2 separate regions of the Homo sapiens genome follow, and region 1 is linked to region 2. The links are contacts of gene promoters, found by promoter capture Hi-C in human tissues and cell types (Jung and others, 2019). All regions are on one chromosome and are shown on one strand. The core of a region is centred on a gene start or on the middle of the fragment in contact, and the rest is flanking DNA. Distances in the headings are between cores, read along the strand shown.

The links. Contacts are between HindIII fragments. The study calls those that stand out against the background at their distance.
Region 1: a contact is called between a fragment that was not itself captured here and the fragment with the promoter of TBCE in region 2, in 3 of the 25 tissues and cell types used here (adrenal gland, mesenchymal stem cells and pancreas).

Annotation. Positions count from the first base shown.
Region 1 is chr1:235,287,161-235,290,664 of GRCh38, reverse strand. The region is part of intron 2 of ARID4B (AT-rich interaction domain 4B); the gene reads left to right. Among named protein-coding and RNA genes, the nearest start is that of ARID4B, 39 kb to the left of the region's middle. The HindIII fragment of the contact is 9,052 bases long and covers 1-3,504 here.
Region 2 is chr1:235,365,365-235,368,774 of GRCh38, reverse strand. TBCE (tubulin folding cofactor E) reads right to left here and starts at 1,348. Exons shown (of 17, transcript NM_003193.5): 1 at 1,271-1,348. It overlaps LOC124904559 (a long non-coding RNA gene), which reads left to right and starts at 1,355. Exons shown (of 2, transcript XR_007066957.1): 1 at 1,355-1,565; 2 at 2,152-2,422. RefSeq lists enhancers at 1,049-1,388, 928-1,641. The HindIII fragment of the contact is 12,392 bases long and covers 1-3,410 here.

The DNA.
Region 1 (3,504 bases), core at 508-3,007, 79 kb after region 2:
TTGCAGTTCTGTATAGGACAGATGTATAAGATTTACGATGTAACATAATTTATTTAGCCACACCCCTATTTTTGGACATTTAGGTTGTTTTTGACCTTTTGCTTTTACAAACAGGTCTGAGATGAGGTAACTTTGTACATATATTATTTCATACATCTGTAAGAGTATCTGTAGGATTAATTCCTAAGAGTAGGGTTACTGATTAAAGCACATGTGCTTTTTTTTTTTTTTGGTGATGGAATCTCATTCTGTCGTCCAGGTTGGCGTCATCTTGGCTCACTGCAACCTCTGCCTCCCTGGTTCAAGCAGTTCTCCTGCCTCAGCCTCTGGAGTAGCTGGGATTACAGGCATGCACCACCATGCCCCGCTAAGTTTTGTATTTTTAGTGGAGACAGGTGTCACCATGTTGGCCAAGTTGGTCTTGAACTCCTGACCTCAAGTGATCTGCCCGGCCTGCATTTTTTATTTCTATAATCGTTTCCCGTTCAGGTTATACAGATTTACATTCTCAGCAGCAATATGAAGGCTAACATTTTCCCATAACTTACCTGCCGTGTACATTACTAGACTTCTGAATTTCTGAATTTTTGCCAATCTGATAGTGAAAAATGGTGTGGGTTTTTTTTTTTTAGAGATAGAGTCTCACTATATCGTCCAGGCTGGAGGGAGTGTAGTGGCATGATAGGGGCACACTGCAACCTCTGTCTCCCAGGTTCAAGCAGTTCTTCTGCCTCAGCCTCCCAAGTAGTTGAAACTATGGATGCGTGCGAAAAATTGTGTTTTGAATTGTTTTTATTTAGTAGGTTTTACATCGAATTTATGAATGAGTATGAGCATCTTTTCAAGTGTTGAGTCCATTGTAATTCTTTTTATATGAAATATCCTTTTATGTCATATGCCCATTTTTCTGTTGAATGGTTGGCTTTTTTTTTTTTTTTTGAGGCAGAATCTCCTTCCTGTCCCCCAGGCTGGAGTGCAGTGGTCCAATAACGGCTTACTGCAGCCTTGAACCTCCCAGGCTCAAGTGATCCTCCCACCTCAACCTCCTGAGTACCTGGGGCTACAGGCACATGCTACCATGCTGGCTAATTTTTAAATTTTTTAATAGAGATAAGGCCTCACTATGTTGTCCAGGCTGGTCTCGAACTCCTGGGCTCAAGCACCTCACCTACCTCGGCCTCCCAGTGTTGGGACTATAGGAGTGAACCACTTTGCCTGGCCTGAATGGTTGGTCTCTAAAAAAAATTACTGATTTTAGATGTTCTTTATGTATGAGAGTCAAGCTCTTTAGTGATGTGAATTATAAATAACTTTTTGTAGAGTTTGTCATTTATATTTTGATATATTTGCTTTGTGTATTTTTTTGCCATTGAGCAATTTTTTAATGGTTAAATTTATCAATATTTTATAGCTCCCAAACTTTGAGTTAATTTACTGTTTGAAGTAAGTCATACATTGAATTCCCTTCCAGGATCATAATTTATTATGTCACTTTGAATTTAGCTGGACTTTTGGCCAGACCTACTGACTTGCATCTGTGATGAATAACTTTGAATATATGTTATCTCACACATGTGCAAGTATAGCTATTGGATGAATTTGGCCATTTATTCCTGGGGCCAGGGTTGTGTGTTTTTAATTTTGGTAATTATTGTTGAATAAATGGATCTTTCAAGACTGTTAAGATATTGCATTGCTAATAACTGGTGCAGAAATTAATGGTGATTTCTGTTCAAGATGCCAGATTGTTAAACTCCTCTAGGATTAGAAAAGTTTTGGTTGAAAATAGAACACTTAACTGTAACTAAGAGTCTTCTTTTTTCATTATGTGTTGGCCTTTAAGGCACCAGAATTATACTTCAGAAATTCCTTGGGAGAATTTGGGTTATGTCTTAAAATAAAAAATGTTCATGTTCTTTGTGCTCCCTTTTGATACCTACCCAGAAGCAGCCCATGTACAGGTGCACAAGGAAGCTGGCATGAATATGTTTGTGGCTGCCCTCTTTAATAGGGAAAAACAGAAAACCACTTAATATCACCAGTAGAGGACAAGCTAAATAACCATGGCAAATTCCTACAATGGTTATAGCACAAAATTAATTCGACAGTTTGTGTTTACTGATGTAGAAAGATCTCTAAAACATTTTTTGAATGAAAGAAAAGTTGAAAGACAGTATATTAAATGTAGTACCAGTTATGTAAAAATAGATTCACAGAAATGTTATTAAATATGGATACATGTACGTGTATGTAAGTGAAGGTCTGGAAAAAACCTGGAAGAACATATGCCAAAATGAGAATAGTGATTATTAATGGGAATTGAGTGTAGTAATTTAGGACTTACTTTTTTTTTTTTGAAATGGAGTCTCACTCTGTTTTTCAGGCTGGAGTGCAGTGGTGCAATCTCAGCTTACTGCAATCTCCGTCTCCTGAGTTCAAGCAGTTCTGCCTCAGCCTCCTGAGTAGCTGTGACTACAGGTGCCCACCACCACGCCTGGCTAATTTTTATATTTCTTTAATAGAGAAGGGGTTTCGCCATGTTGGCCAGCCTGGTCTTGAGAAATTCCTGACTTCAGGTGATCCACCCGCCTTGGCCTCCCAAAGTGCTGGGATTACAGGCATGAGCCACTGCGCCCAGCCACATTAATGTTTTATTATTTTTACAAGGATAATATGCTCATAGACTGTACAACTAAAGGCCAATTTAAAATTTATTTGGAAAAAATACATTGTTTTGTACATAGGTCCCTGTAAAGGCAGAGTAAGACTGGAAAAATACCCTAAATAAGGAGACAGTAGTTATGTCCCCGAGGGATGTGGGAACAGAGAAGATAAAAGGAGACATTTGCTTTTTGTATACTTCTGTATTTTTATAGTTTTATAAAGCAAATGAATTCATGCATTAATTTGTATGCTGAAGAAAGGACTAAATTCTTTAGGACCAGGAATTCATGTAAGAGTATCTCATTTTGTCAAGCTTATTTAACAGTACTTAGTGAAAATAGTAGCTGCCGGTTGAATTACTGGGTAGAGAATAAAGGTGTCAACAGAAATAGTTTACTAATTTGCTGATAATTAGGCATTAATTTGCTTGATGTGATGCATGTTTATTACTTTAGGGCAAGTAGAAAAATAAAAATAAGTAGATTCTTTCTCATATACCATCATGAACACTGGTAGTTTCTGGTACATTCAAGACAGAACACACAATGAGACTGTTCTTGCCCTGTAGCCTCACCTGGAATTTCCTTTTGTCTTCTGCTTTGTTACTACAACCTCCCCTGCAGTTTGGGTGTCTCTCTAGTTCTCTTTTCTTTGTTTAGTAGTCTGGGATCAGATCTGCTCTTCTGAAATAGAAGTCAGCAGTGAGGAGAAAAAAGGTAAAAAAAAAAAATTTATTTTTTCTGAGACAGAGTCTTACTCTGTCGTCCAGGCTGGAGTGCAGTGGCACGATCTTGGCTCACTCCAGCCTCCGCCTCTTGGGTTCAAGCAATTCTCCTCCCT
Region 2 (3,410 bases), core at 99-2,598:
GGCCAACATGGCGAAACCCCATCTCTACTACAAATACAAAAAAAAAAAAATTAGCTGGGCATGGTGGCACACACCTGTCATCCCAACTACTCGGGAGGCTGAGGTGGGAGATATGCTTGAACCTGGGAGGCGTGGTTGCAGTGAGCTGAGATTGGGCCACTGCACACCAGCCTTGGGCGACAGAGCAAGACTCCATATCAAAAAAAAAAAAAAAAAAAAAAAGCAGGCTGTCCACTTAGATTAAAAAAAAAACCCAGAGATATGCTGTTTACAACAGTATATAAAATATGAGCATACAGAAAAGTTAAAACTTAAGAATATGAAAAACGTTTGAAGCAAGTATCAAAACACAGCGGCCGTGGCTAAATTAATGCCAGAGAAAAGAAAAGTCTTCTCTCTTCATCTCTACCTCCACTAACTTTCTCTAACAGTTTGGCAATTTGTTAACCCCGTCTTCCTGCCAGGACTGCTTCTCTGAGGATAAGGCTGTCACACCATCATTTGGATCCACCCACAACTTAGAACAGTCCCCATTTGGTAGTAAACACCAAGTAAAAATAGTTACTTTAGGCCGGGCGCGGTGGCTCACGCCTGTAATCCCAGCAGTTTGGGAGGCCGAGGCGGGTGGATCATCTGAGATCAGGAGTTCGAGAGCAGCCTGGCCAACATGGAGAAACCCTGTCTCTACTAAAAATACAAAAATTAGCCGAGCGTGGTGGCACGCGCCTGTAATCCCAGCTACTCGGGAGGCTGAGGCAGCAGAATCGCTTGAACCCAGGAGGCGGAGGTTGCAGTAAGCCGAGATCAGAGATCCGCGCCACTGCAGTCCAGCCTGGGCGACAGAGCAAGACTGTCTCAAAAGAACAAACAGTTACTTTAAGTGCTCTCCACCTATTTAACGTTATTTCTCTGTCATCACCAATGTTAACTGATTCGGAAGGACGAGGCTGTTCCTCTAAGGTGACACCTTGTAAAAGTCGTTGGTCGCCTGTACCATTTTCACCTCTTCCAAAGTGACATGCCAATTCTCTGAGAGAAGCTTAAAATGCTAGAGATCACGTGCGGCTACTCCTAAATAAGGCCTTCCAGGAGGCGCAGGGTGGCCCCAACCCAGCCGGCTGGACCGCCTCCCAGCGCACGGAGCAGGCAACGCCCGGCTCTGGCAATCTGGGAAGATTCCAGGAAAGGAAGAAAAGGCCAAGAGCACTGCAGGGTGACGCACCGGCCAGGAATGCTCGTTCCGAAAGCTCCCCGAACCTCTGAAGCTCACCTGCCCGCGGAGACTCCAGGTGTTCCCAGCAGCAGCCCCTCCAGCCAACTGCCCAGCAGCGAAGCTTGAGGCTCTGGCCGGAAGTGCTGTAGGAAGTCCCGCCTCCACCGGAGTGAGGTACGGCTGCTGGAGCATAGACGAGAATGTCAGCGACAGTATTGGAGGCCAGAGGAGTGGTCAGCCCACCCAAGCCCCGCCTCTGGGCGGGGGCCCAAGCGATTTCCGAGTGCTGAAACCTGGGATGACAGAGCAGCCCAGGGAAAGCGCGTGTTCCAGTTTACTAGATACCACAGAAGTGAGTTACAAATCCTGTAAGAGGTTCAGTTCCATGCGTATTGAGAGTCTACCACGTAGGCAGCATGCGGTGGTCAAAGAGAAGAATATAGTGTTGATACCGCCAAAACTAAAAAAAAAAAAAAAATTACCTAGTTAAAGCATAAGGCAGAATGAAAGTAAATGCAGTGATAGAAAAAATAATAGAAAAAGCAACTATCCTAGACATGTTAATTTCTGTTGAAACCGCCTTTGCAAAATTTTGACAGTAAGAGAAATCTGACATGGTTTACTCCTATCTTGATTCTAGCCTCACAGACTGGCTGTCTTTGCTCATTCCTGGGCACAGGACAAACTAACTTTGGGAGAAATTTAGTTTATAGTTTAAATGATAATAACCCTTCCCCAAAACTGCCCTTTTAAAACTAAATGAAAGGCCACCAAGTTAGGAGAATGAGAGGGTCCTGAATTCTTCTAAGTTGTAATTGTAGTTAAATGATTACCACCCATTATTCCACAGGTCACAAATTCGCATCTTCCCCAATCATTCCTGCAGATAACATCACTGTTGTAGAACCTAAGATTGGCCTTTTGAGATGTCTTTTCAGGTTTTTGCATTTCTGACAAGTGGATGGCCCCACCCTGACTCATCAACCTGGGGATCCACGAACCAACTCAGTGCAAGAGGACAGCTTCTACTTCTTATGATTTCACCTCTGACCCAACCAGTCAGCACTCCCCATTCCCTGGCCCCGTACCTGTCAAACTATCTGAAAAACCCCCTAACCTCTGAGCCTTTGGTGAGATGGATTTGAGTAACAACTCTGTCTCCCACGTGGCATGGCCAGCCTCGCGTCAATTAAACTTTCTTTACTGCAATGCCATGGTTTCTGTCAATTAATTTTGTTTGTGCAGCAGGCAGAAAGAACCCATTGGTGGATACCACAGACTCCACAACAAGAGCAGTTTGGGTAGAGTGAGTGTTAGCATTCCAAAACCAGACTGAAGTGAGGTGAAGTGGAAAGGAAATTGAGGGAGCAAAGCCAAATGACTCTTCCAAGAAGTGACCTTCTAATTGTCATATTAAATGGACACAAACAGTCAGTATCCTGCTGGATGTCTCTACTGTTTTATACTTTGATAGTTCACTCCTTGAAACTAGAAACTAGATATTACAGTGATTGTTTTTTCTTTGGAAGAGGGGATTAAAAACCACATTGGAAATCTGATAAAAGCTATCTACCTACACACAAATTTTGCGTATGATTTCAAGGACTGATTAATCCTTTGAAGCCCATGAATAGGCCTCAAAGGAATCCATGGATCCCAAACTAAGACTCTCCTCAGCAGGGCACGGTGGCTCACACCTATAATCCCAGCATTTTGGGAGGCCGAGGCAAGCAGATCACTTGAGCTCAAGAGTTCAAAACTAGCCTGGGCAATGTGGCGAAACCCTGTCTCTAAAAAAACACAAAAATTAGCCAGGCGTGGTGGTAGGTGCCTGTAGTCCCAGCTACTCAGGACGTTGAGTTGGGAGAATCTCTTGAGCAGGGGAGACAGAGGTTGCAGTGAGCTGAGATCTCAACACTGCACTCCAACCTGGGCAATAGAGTGAGACCCTGTTTCAAAAAAGAAAAAAAGGCCAGGCGTGGTGGCTCATGCCTGTAATCCGAGTACTTTGGGAAGCTGAGGCGGGTGGATCACAAGGTCAAGAAATTGAGACCATCCTGGCCAACAGGGTGAAGCCCTGTCTCTACTAAAAATACAAAAATTAGCTGGGCATGGTGCTGTGTGCCTGTAATCACAGCTACTTGGGAGGCTAAGGCAGGAGAATCATTTGAACCTGGGAGGCGGAGGTTGCAGTGAG